Linked DNA regions of Homo sapiens: regions 1, 2 and 3 are each linked to region 4. Evidence: promoter capture Hi-C in 16 types of primary human blood cells and fetal thymus (Javierre and others, 2016). All regions are on one chromosome and are shown on one strand. Each heading gives the region's core, a stretch centred on a gene start or on the middle of the fragment in contact. The rest is flanking DNA. Distances are from core to core; before and after follow the strand shown.

The links. Contacts are between HindIII fragments. The CHiCAGO score rates a contact against its expected background, and 5 or more counts as called.
Region 1: a contact is called between a fragment that was not itself captured here and the fragment with the promoter of ZNF547 in region 4, in 5 of 17 cell types (total CD4 T cells, non-activated CD4 T cells, total CD8 T cells and 2 more). The highest score is 14.4, in total CD4 T cells.
Region 2: the fragment with the promoter of ZNF420 here is called in contact with the fragment with the promoter of ZNF547 in region 4 in 1 of 17 cell types (non-activated CD4 T cells); the score reaches 8.7 in non-activated CD4 T cells.
Region 3: a contact is called between a fragment that was not itself captured here and the fragment with the promoter of ZNF547 in region 4, in 1 of 17 cell types (fetal thymus). The highest score is 8.2, in fetal thymus.

Annotation. Positions count from the first base shown.
Region 1 is chr19:37,211,885-37,214,584 of GRCh38, forward strand. No RefSeq gene overlaps it. Among named protein-coding and RNA genes, the nearest start is that of ZNF585B, 2.7 kb to the left of the region's middle. The HindIII fragment of the contact is 8,273 bases long and covers 1-2,700 here.
Region 2 is chr19:37,077,039-37,079,738 of GRCh38, forward strand. It overlaps ZNF420 (zinc finger protein 420), which reads left to right and starts at 1,395. Exons shown (of 5, transcript NM_144689.5): 1 at 1,395-1,532. It overlaps LOC105372390 (a long non-coding RNA gene), which reads right to left and starts at 1,159. Exons shown (of 2, transcript XR_001754095.2): 1 at 1,060-1,159. RefSeq lists a silencer at 851-1,140 and an enhancer at 1,231-1,470. The HindIII fragment of the contact is 14,557 bases long and covers 1-2,700 here.
Region 3 is chr19:37,329,075-37,331,775 of GRCh38, forward strand. It overlaps a transcript of ZNF875 not described here. Among named protein-coding and RNA genes, the nearest start is that of ZNF875, 4.2 kb to the right of the region's middle. The HindIII fragment of the contact is 7,336 bases long and covers 1-2,701 here.
Region 4 is chr19:57,362,243-57,364,942 of GRCh38, forward strand. ZNF547 (zinc finger protein 547) reads left to right here and starts at 1,309. Exons shown (of 4, transcript NM_173631.4): 1 at 1,309-1,461. It overlaps TRAPPC2B (trafficking protein particle complex subunit 2B), which reads left to right and starts at 1,309. Exons shown (of 2, transcript NM_001355204.2): 1 at 1,309-1,461; 2 at 2,573-2,700. The coding sequence starts at 2,592. RefSeq lists enhancers at 862-941, 982-1,361. The HindIII fragment of the contact is 1,910 bases long and covers 691-2,600 here.

The DNA.
Region 1 (2,700 bases), core at 64-2,563, about 20 Mb before region 4:
GAGGCAGGAGAATCGCTTGAACCCAGAAGGCGGAGGTTGCAGTGAGCCGAGATCATGCCATTGCACTCTAGCCTGGGCAACAAGAGCAAAACTCCATCTCAAAACAACAACAACAACAACAACAGCACAATAATAATAATAACAGTCTTTAATATGGCCAACGTGTGACTAAAAACACCTGAAGAAAATCTTGCTTTTTTTTTTTTTTTTTTTTTGAGACAGAGTCTCACTCTGTCACCCAGGCTGGAGTGTAATGGCACAATCATGGCTCACTGCAACCTTGACTGCCCAGGCTCAAAAGCAATCCCAGCTGGGCGCAGTGGCTCATGCCTGTAATCCCAACGCATTGGGAGGCCGAGGCAGGTGGATCATGAGGTCAAGAGATCGAGACCATCCTAGCCAACATGGTGAAACCCTGCCTCTACTAAAAATACAAAAATTAGCTGGGTGTGGTGGCGTGCGCCTGTAGTACCAGCTACTTGGGAGGCTGAGGCAGTAGAATCACTTGAACCCAGGAGGTGGAGGTTGCAGGGAGCTGAGATGGAGCCACTGCACTCCAGCCTGGTGACAGAGTGAGACTCCAAAGAACTGGGATTACAGGCGTGAGCCTCCGAGCCCGGCCAGGGAGTTTTGTTTTTTTTTTTTTTTGATTGCAAAGAGATGTTGAATTTTGTCAAATGCTTTTTCTGTTTCTATTGAGATGACCATATGATTTTTGTCCTTCATTCTGTCAATGTGATGTATTGCACATACTAATCTGCATATGTTAAACCATCTTTGCTTCCCTGGGATAAGTCCCACTTGATCATTGTGTATCTTTTTGACATGCTATTGGATTTGGTTTGCTAGTATTTTGTTGAGGATTTTTGCATCTGCGTTTATCAGGGATCTTGGCCTGTAGTTTTCTCTTTCTTCTGTCTTTGCCTGGTTTTAGTATGAGGATGGTGCTGGCCTCACAGAATCAGTTTGGAAAAATTCCTTCCCCTTCAATTTTTTTGGATTAGTTTGAGAAATATTAGAATTTGTTCTCCCTTAAAAGTTTGGTAGAATCAAATCCAAGAAGGGGATGATGAGAACCTCTAATTTTCAGGCAAACTGGGCAGTTGTTGGTAATCAGGTGACCTAGTAGTTGTCATTGGCATCTGAAGAGGTGGGCAGTCTTGTGGGACTGAGCAATTAAACTGTAAGGTCTGTGCTAACTCAGGTTAGTGTCAGAATTGAATTCAATTGTAGGACACCCATGTAGGGAGGGCTGGAGAAGTGGTGTCAGAAAAACTCCACATATTTTGTGTTAAAAACGAAACATTCTGGAAGTATTGAGTGTTGTGAGAGTATATATTTTTAAAACCAGTTTGTTTTTCCTATGCAACTGTATAAAAAGACATATCAAGTCTCACTCCCCCCACCACCCCAATCACTATAGGTTATCACTATAGGTATTGTTTCTGGTTCACGTTTCCAATACTTCTTTTTTCCTATCTTTTCTTTTTTTAGTGAATATAAACAAATGCTTATATCTAATCTAATTTCCTTTTCTTTTTTAGACGAACTATATGTTACACTGTTCTATACTTTCCATTTTTTATATATTCCAGAGTTAATGTCATTCCGTAGAGAGCTTCGTTTTTTTTTTTTTCTGCTGTGTGTGTATGGGCTGCATAAAACTTTATGATGTGACTGTGGTGATTTGAGCTGCTACCTTTATCAAATACTAAGCATCTATGTGGATGTTAATTTCTTTTTTTTTTGAGATGAAGTCTCACTCTGTCACCAGGCTGTAGCGCAGTGGCACAATCTCAGCTCACTGCAACCTCTGCCTCCCAGGTTCAAGCGATTCTCCTGCCTCAGCCTCCCGAGTAGCTGGGACTACAGGCGCGTGCCACCACACCCAGCTAATTTTTGTATTTTTAGTAGAGACGGGGTTTCATCATGTTGGCCAGGATGGTCTCGATCTCTTCACCTCATGATTCACCCGCCTTGGCCTCCCAAAGTGCTGGGATTACAGGTGTGAGCCACCGTGCCTGGCCGGGATGTTAATTTCTTTCTTTCTTTCTTTTTTTGAGACGGAGTTTTGCTCCTGTTGCCCAGGCTGGAGTGCAGTGGCTTAATCTCGGCTCACTGCAACCTCCGCCTCCCAGGTTCAAGCAATTCTCCTGCCTCAGCCTCCTGAGTAGCTGGGATGACAGGCGCATGCCACCATGCCCAGCTTATTTTTTGTATTTTTAGTAGAGATGGGGTTTCATCATGTTGGCCAGGCTGGTCTCGAACTCCTGACCTCAGGTGATCCACCCACCTCGGCCACCCAAAGGGCTGGGCGTGAGCCACCGCGCCCGGCCATGGATGTTTATTTCTCCATTTCCCATCCTCCTCCCTTTGTCTGTCTCTCTAACCACACACAAATAGCACACTGTTTTAAGTATAGAGGCTTTATCATGTACCTCATATAACTTCATGTAACTTCAATTCTACTTTCTGTCTCTATGAATACACCTATTCTAGGCACCTCATATAAGTGGATTCATACAATATTTGTCCTTTTGGTCTGGCTTATCTCACTCCGCATAGTGTTGAAAAAGAAAATAAATGGCTTTTATCTGAGGAATGCAAGCCTTCTTTATGTGATCAAGCCCAGAGAGGGGTTGGGATGACACAGCTGTTGTGGTGGCTCATGCCTGTAATCCCAGCACTTTGGGAGGCCTC
Region 2 (2,700 bases), core at 145-2,644, about 20 Mb before region 4:
GTTTTATTAATTTTTTTCCCTCTGAAGGAGTGGTGAAATTATACTCTATCTTCTCTGTGCTGGAAGTTCACAAGTTTTTGATTATTCAAAAATCATAAAAGGCCAAGAGGTCTTGAAGTAAGTAAAAATAAGTTCAGGTTTACCAACAAACTCTACAGCCTTAAGTTACTTTCTGCCGGCCAAGGTTTTCTCATCAGAAAATGAGGACAAGTGTTTGACCTAGAATTTGGGAAATCTGACTAGTGCTGTACTGTGCTAAAATTCACTCTTCTTATGTATAACGTTGTTTTATTATTTTATTAGTTGATGGCCTCTCAACCGTACCCAGTAATAAGAGAAACTTTACCCTCTAATTAGAAAATAATGGATATCTACTTTTGGCCTGCTGTGGCAGAGGAAAAGGCAGTTACCCTAGGACTGGTTTTGAAATAATCTTTCTAAAAACAAAGAAAAAACTACGTTAATTTTGGATTCTTCCCGATAACACATATATTTGATCCAATAGAAAAATGATGTCTAAATTACTTGTCAGATAAATTGATTATCTTTTCCAGATTATTACATTACTATTTAAGGAAGAAATAACTTGGCCATAGTATTTTCACTGTCACACACGATCACACACAGCTCATTTGCTCTTGGCACCCTTACAGACACTGAAATACAAGCACAAAGAAAGCACGTTTATATAACACAGATCACCAGTTACTCAATTACGGCCACACACAAAAAAGCAGATATACATACAGATACCCTTCATAAGCAAACCACAATAGAGATCTGTGTAAAATCGTCTTACTCTGTTAGACGATTCTACACAGTTATAAAATCCCATTACTACGCAGCTTAAAGTACAAATCACCTCACACCCCACAGCAGGAAGAATCACACACAGGCAGAAACACAACCATACACACCCGGCCACGGAAAGACTCTCAGTCCACCTGGCATCTCCCATTGTCACACACACCCCAAGGGCCTGGGAGGGCACACACAGGGTCCTCTGCAAATCCGAGGTTCCGGCGGGTCCCCGCACCGGCCCCAGCTCCTCCCCCGCACCTGCCTGGCCGGCGGGTCCCACCCTCTCTCCTGCCAGGGGTAGACCCTGGGACCACTCAGCTCGCTCTCGCAGGCCCTGAGCGTCTGACGCCTGCGCACTGAGCGCGGGCGGGCGGGCACTCCCAGAAACCTCCGGGGCGCTGCAGGCGGGACAAGCAGGTTCCACAGGCCGAGCCCACGAGCCCCTCGAGGGGTGAGCGGCCCGGGCCTCCTGGCGTTCTGGCCGGCTAGCCAAGCGCTGGACTACATTTCCCAGAGGCACGGCGTCCGGAGCGCTGGACTACATTTCCCAGAGGCACCGCTCCCGGAGCGTAGCTTCATTTCCGTTAGTTTGCGAGATTTGGAGGCCTCGCGTGGGGAGAGGGCCGCGTCTGTGGAGGAGCTTGGCTCCGCACCTGCTGGGCTGGCGAACCCGAAATTGGGCTTGGAACCCGGGAGCCAGATCTTGGACCCTGAACTGCACCTCTGTCAAGGTAGGAGTGTCCGGGATGCCGGAGCGGACACGCGCGGAGAAAGCGTCGCTGGGGTTACTCGTGTGGCCGTGTCTCCGGTTTTGTGTGCAGGCTACAGCCTGCCTGGTATTGGCGACTGCCTGTGCATACACGACTGGACGTGTGTGGCTGTGGTTTTGTGTATGAGCATTTGTATGAGTGTGAGTTGTGACTCTGAGGGTGTTTGTGACTGTTTGCTTACCTGGCTGGGATATACTTATGTGACTGTGATTTTATGTGTGCCGCGTGTATAATTGGGGTTTGCCTGTGACTATGAAGTGTGTGACAGTTGTGACAAGAGTGTTTGGATGTTCTTGTGTCACTTTGAGGTTGTGTGTAAACCTGATATCGTGGGATGGATTTGCCAGTAAATTTAAGGTGTGTGACAGTGTTGCTGTGACACGGTGTTTATTACCGCGTGTTTCCCTGATTTCGTACTGGGTTGGGTGACTGTCTGATTGTGTGTGACTGTGGGGTTGTGTGTGCTGTTTTCATGACTGTGTAAAGAGACTAAAATTGCAGCTTTGAAAGGGTGTTTTTGGCGGTATGTGTCTCTGACAAGGTGCTTGGATGTAATTATATGCCTTGTACTTAATGGGATTTTGTTTGAGACAAGGTGGTCTAACAATGTAGCATAATTGGGTGATTGTGCCTCTAGCTGTGTAACTGTGGAAATGTGATTATGTGTGACTTTATGTGGCCATTTGTATATTCTGTGACCTTATGGGGGTTTAGTCCAGTACAGAAGTAAATTTCTTTTTGGTATTTCTGGGGTTCATTTGGGGCTGAGGTCTGCCTATGGATTGTGAGTCCCATGTGGCTCTGTGCTCCTCCCATGTGGCTCTGAGGACTTAAGGACTTTTTGATTTGACCACAGTGGCTGCCCTTTCATCCATGGCCTGTATTGCTTCATTTCTGTATCCATCCTCGGTTCACCTTGGGAAATGTAGTTACTTACGAGTTCACGACTTCTTCCCTGCGTCCTCTTGCCTTATAGCCTTAAGGGGATTGGGTGCAGGGAAGTGGCAAGAAGTAAGGAAGTCAGACATTTGGACACCTGAGTGATGAATAGGAGTTATTTGCAAGTTACAGACCTGGTCTTAGGATGAGAATTTTAGGGCTGATAATACCTTCAAGACAGCCACTGGAT
Region 3 (2,701 bases), core at 6-2,505, about 20 Mb before region 4:
TGCACAAAGAAACGTGAGCTGCTGTATTAGATGGTGTTGAGTTCATGCCACCGAATCACTGACACACACATCTGCTCACTGCTTGCTCTTCGCACAGGCCCCTGGATCCTCCTGGAATCCCTGATCCCTGTTGCTCCCTTGCGGAGTTTTCTAGTCCCTCTTATTTGAAGCATGTCTTTCAGAGCCTCGCACCACCCAGCTTGGGTATCTGGTGAATTCTGTGGTCTGCATGTCCATGTTTTTGACATTCTGGGAAGGGTGGCCCAGGCTGTGATTTGCCATCTACTGCTGCAGGCTATGGATGGTATTCAGAAGGGAGGGGAGATGCTGTGTGCGTGTTCTGAAGGGTTTCCCACTAAATGGAGAGACTGACTCTCTCCATAAGTATTTGATTTTTACTTTATCTCCTCGTTGACTTCACAGTGTAAGTGCAGTTTGTCTCTACTGGGTGATGCATGCAGATAAATGTTTATGTGAACATAAGAAGTCTGCATGTGTGGGTGAACTCTCCACATCATGTCATTTATTGTCCATCATTACGTATCTGTGGTGTCTAGCACATTCCTCTACCTTATTTTCTGTCATTGTACCTACTTCTACCTGAACACGTATTAAATATCTTATTAAAAATACACAAATATTATGTTTCCTCAGTGGTTTTTTCCCCCTCACATTGGGCCCTCCTCTTCAGTGGACTACAGTGTGGTACCTGCAGGTCTCAGGCCTTCTGGGAGGTTCCAGCTTTTCCTGGATGCTCTCTCTCTCTGGCCAGCTCAGGCTGGAGCAGTGGGTGTTGGTGCCATCCTGTGGCTATAGGTGATAAACCAGGTTGTGTTTTGACCCCTAGTCTTGAATCCTGGAGTTCTCACATGCGTGGATTTAAATGCTGTGTCTTTCTAAGGGCAGATTGTGCCCATTTTCCTTCTCTGCCTCTCAAGGGACTGTTTGCTGTGTTTATTGACTTACCATTAAAAAAAATCATATACATTGATGAATTAGATTGTACTCCATAAATTATATATGTTTGAAAAATAAAGAATATTTTTTCAATTTTTTTCTGATTTTTACCTATCTTTTAAATTGTATATATTTATGGGGTACAAAATGATGTTATGATTTTTCCATACAGTGTGGAATGTTTAAGTCAAATTATCCTATCCATTACCTCAAATACTTGACTTTTTTTGGTGATGAGAATGGTGTTTATCACTTTCACTCATCAGCTCCTGATGTCTTCCATGCTAGGGACAGGAAAGGCTCAACACTTGACTTTCCCTCCTGTTTTCTTAGCCACTGTCAACCCTTGAATGTACCCTCCAGGGTTGCCTGTCACCTTTTACACCTAGCCTGATCCTTGTGCACCCACTTTCCTCTCAGGGACTGTCCTTAGGGAGTGACTTTATGCACAGACTTAATGTGCTCTTCCTGCCTCCTTCATCCCCATAAGCCCCCATCTCAGCCCCATCTGATTATTTCCTCCCTCTCTCATTTCCTGTTATTCTGTTGGTTTTCTAACCTGAAGGGTAACTGCTTACTCCTTAGTTTTCTGCCTTAATTTCTAAGTCATAGGCTACTTTCAGGCTAAAAGTTTTCCTCCAGCCATGGTTTTAGTCTCATTCTGTAAGTCTTGGTTTTTAGTTTTATTCATTTAAAATTAATCTTTAATAACTTTTTTGACTCATTGGTGACAGAGTAATTCCCTCTCTTCCCACCACACCACCCTCTGTCCCCAAGATTCTGGAAGTTTGTTCTTCCCCTTTTGTGATCATTGTTACTTAAAACTTTGAGTTTTTCAAATTAGAAGTTTCTTCTATAAATGTATATAGAGCTTGGCTGGGCGTGGTGGCTCACGCCTGTAATCCCAGCGTTTGGGAGGCTGAGGCGGGTGGATCACGAGGTCAGGAGATCGAGACCATCCTGGCTAACATGGTGAAACCCGATCTCTACTAAAAATACAAAAAAATTAGCCAGGCGAGGTGGCAGGCGCCTGTAGTCCCAGCTACTCGGGAGGCTGAGACAGGAGAATGGCGTGAACCTGGGAGGCGGAGCTTGCAGTGAGCCGAGATGGCACCACTGCACTCCAGCCTGGGCGACAGAGTGAGACTCTGTCTCAAAAAAAAAAAAAAAAAAAAGTGTATAGAGCTAATAACTCCTTGCTTTTTTTTTTTTTTTTTTTGAGAGTCTCGCTCTTGTTGCCAAGGCTGGAGTGCAATGGCACAATCTTGGCTCACTGCAACTTCTGCCTCCTGGGTTCAAGTGATTCTCCTGCCTCACCCTCCCAAGTAGCTGGATTACAGGCAGTGGCCACCACGCCCATGTGGGGAAAAGCAAGAGAGATCAGATTGTTACTGTGTCTGTGTAGAAAGAAGTAGACATAGGAGACTCCATTTTGTTATGTACTAAGAAAAATTCTTCTGCCTTGAGATTCTGTTAATCTATAACCTTACCCCCAACCCCGTGCTCTCTGAAACATGTGCTGTGTCAACTCAGAGTTAAATGGATTAAGGGCGGTGCAAGATGTGCTTTGTTAAACAGATGCTTGAAGGCAGCATGCTCCTTAAGAGTCATCACCACTCCCTAATCTCAAGTACCCAGGGACACAAAAACTGCAGAAGGCCGCAGGGACCTCTGCCTAGGAAAGCCAGGTATTGTCCAAGGTTTCTCCCCATGTGATAGTCTGAAAGATGGCCTCGTGGGAAGG
Region 4 (2,700 bases), core at 59-2,558:
CCTGGGCAGCAAGTCATACCCTCCCGCCGCGCCCCCTGCCCCCCACCCCTGACCCCTCTCATCCAGGCCTATAATTGCCCCAGCCTGTAAGCAGTGAGGGGTTCTGGCACTAAGCTAGTTCTCCCCATCACAGGTCTCGTGCTGGACATAAAACCTGCATTGCTGTAGAGCTGCCAACTCTGCCTTTCTTTAACCCTCGCCTTCCCTTCAAAACCTAACAGTTATTATTAATAGATTTCTGTAATTTTCATTTCACAAGTATTTTCACAGATAATTTCAACTCCCTGTAAAATGATAACTCACTTCTCAGGAAGGAGATAAGATCATGAAAGTTCACAGTTTTTATTGGGGATAATACGTTCCCTGTGTACATATACTCCAACTATGGAATGGCACAAAATGTCCTGTCAGGAAATGGCATGTATCAGTCACTCTCATTTTCAGACAGGATTGAGACTTTTAAAATAAATGTAAAATATTTCAGACATGAAGTAATAAGTATTATTAGAATAAAAGCATTGCACTCTTGGTAGGAACACAATCACTGACTCTACAGACAGTAATGATGTTTTCTTCTGGATCCAGAGGCACAGCGTCACCCTTTCAATCTACGTCGGTATCTCCTGTCTTCTTTTGTGCAAATTCCCAGCCATGTAGTCTTTCTTTGTTCTCTTGGACCAACCATATTGAAGCTTAATAAATAGAAGTCAAAGTTTAACTGTATGTGTATTTGAAAAGCAACATATGGCTGAGAGGCATGAGTAGAGACAGAGTGCCTTTGTGGTATAGTGTGTCCCTTTGGCGGTGTAGCCGTTGAGAACTTGCTGTGCTTCACAATCCGATATCATAGGTCCCTCACATTTCTGTGAGTATCCTAGACCTTACTTCAAGAAAATCTGGTTATGTCGCCTTTAAGAGCAACCCAAGCCCCGTCCTGTCCGTGGAGTCCGGCACTCTGTTTACCAGCTCCCCTGACGGTGCCACTGAGCCTCTATCCGCCATATAAGGACTGACCAACGCTCTAAGGCAAGTCCAGAAGCGGTGTCGAAACTTCATAACCCAGAAGACACTGCGGTTCTCGGCAGCGCGACTGACCCAATGAATGTGCAGGAAGGAACCTTTGCGTGCGTGCGTGCGTGCGTGCGTCCGTCCTCGTGCTCGCGCATCGTAGGAGGGCGGGACTTCCGGCGTCCTCTTGCCGTGGTTGATTTGATTTTCTCTGGTGTTTTCACTAGTTCCGGCCTTTGGCGCTCTATGACGTCACCGAAGTGACGGAGCGGAAAAGCGCGAGAAGCGGCTTGGTTCCTTGTACGCAGAGGCGGTAGTGACACAGGCACAACTGACAGTGGCAGAAGCTCAGCTGACAAGGACTGGGGACGGCGGTGTCCTTGTCTTGCCTTTGTCGCCCCCGCCCCTCTCTTCCCTGGCTGGACTTGCGGAGTCCCCGCCGAAGAACCCGAGGTGGGTGCCCCGTCCCAGGCCCCCCCCCACCTCCGCCCGACCCCTCCTTCCAGTGCTGAAGCCCATAGAAGGGGCCCTGCAGGTCAGGCCCCTTGTCTCGAAGAGAGGGGCGTTCCTGTGTGGGGTCCCCGTATCAGCTGGTTTGATGCAGCCTCAGAGCTCCCTTCGGGGATCTCAGGTTCAGAGCATGGAGGTGCTGCCAAGTGGGCCGCGTCGGGGAGCCCGGAGTGTGGGTTGTTTCTGCGGGAAAGAGAGGGTTTTGTGAATTTTCTCTTGGAATGGCAGCCTGAGCAGCCGGTATAACCATGGAAGGTTGTCAAGGGAAGACCAGTGGGAGGGGCAGGTCCAGAGTTAGAACGAGCAGGATGGGGAATTGACACAGAGAGACCCAGAAGAGGCCACTGCAGTGGATCCCAGAGGCTGCACCAGAGCCGTGGTATAAGAGGGACAATGTGATGGGATTCTGGATAGACCTGGAAGATAGAGCCAACAGGTTTTCCTGCCGTATCAGATATGTCTGTGAGCAAAAATAGGGAGTGAAGGGTCATTTTTTTTTTTTTGCCCGAACATCTGAAAGAATGAAGTTGGGGAAGTCAGCAGCATGAGAAGTAGGTTTCATGGAGAAGATCATGGGTTGGAGTTTGGCCAGTGTGATTCTCAGGCGTCTCAAGTTGAAAATGTCACATGGGTAGGGGGACAGAAAGGTGTGGAGTCTACAGAGGAGAACTGGTGTAGATTCTTCAAAAGAATAGAGGGTGGCCGGGCGTGGTGGCTCACGCCGGTAATCCCAGCACTTTGGGAGGCCAAGGCGAGCGGATCACAAGGTCAGGCGTTCAAGACCAGCCTGACCAACATGGTGAAACCCCGTCTTTAGTAAAAATACAAAAATTAGCCGGGGGTGGTGACGCGCGCCTGTAATCCCAGCTATTCGGGAGGCTGAGGCAGGAGAATTGCCTGAACCCAGGAGGTGGAGATTGCAGTGAGCCAAGATCGCGCCATTGCACTCCAGCCTGGGCGACAGAGCGAGATTCCGTGTCAAAAAAAGGTGCGGAGCGCGGGTCTCTTCCGCGGAAACTGACATTGCGTTTCCGTTGTCGGCCTCCCGCTGCAGGAGCCATATATTGAAGACCATGTCTGGAAGCTTCTACTTTGTAATTGTTGGTCACCATGATAATCCAGTTTTTGAAATGGAGTTTTTGCCAGCTGGGAAGGCAGAATCCAAAGACGACCATCGTCATC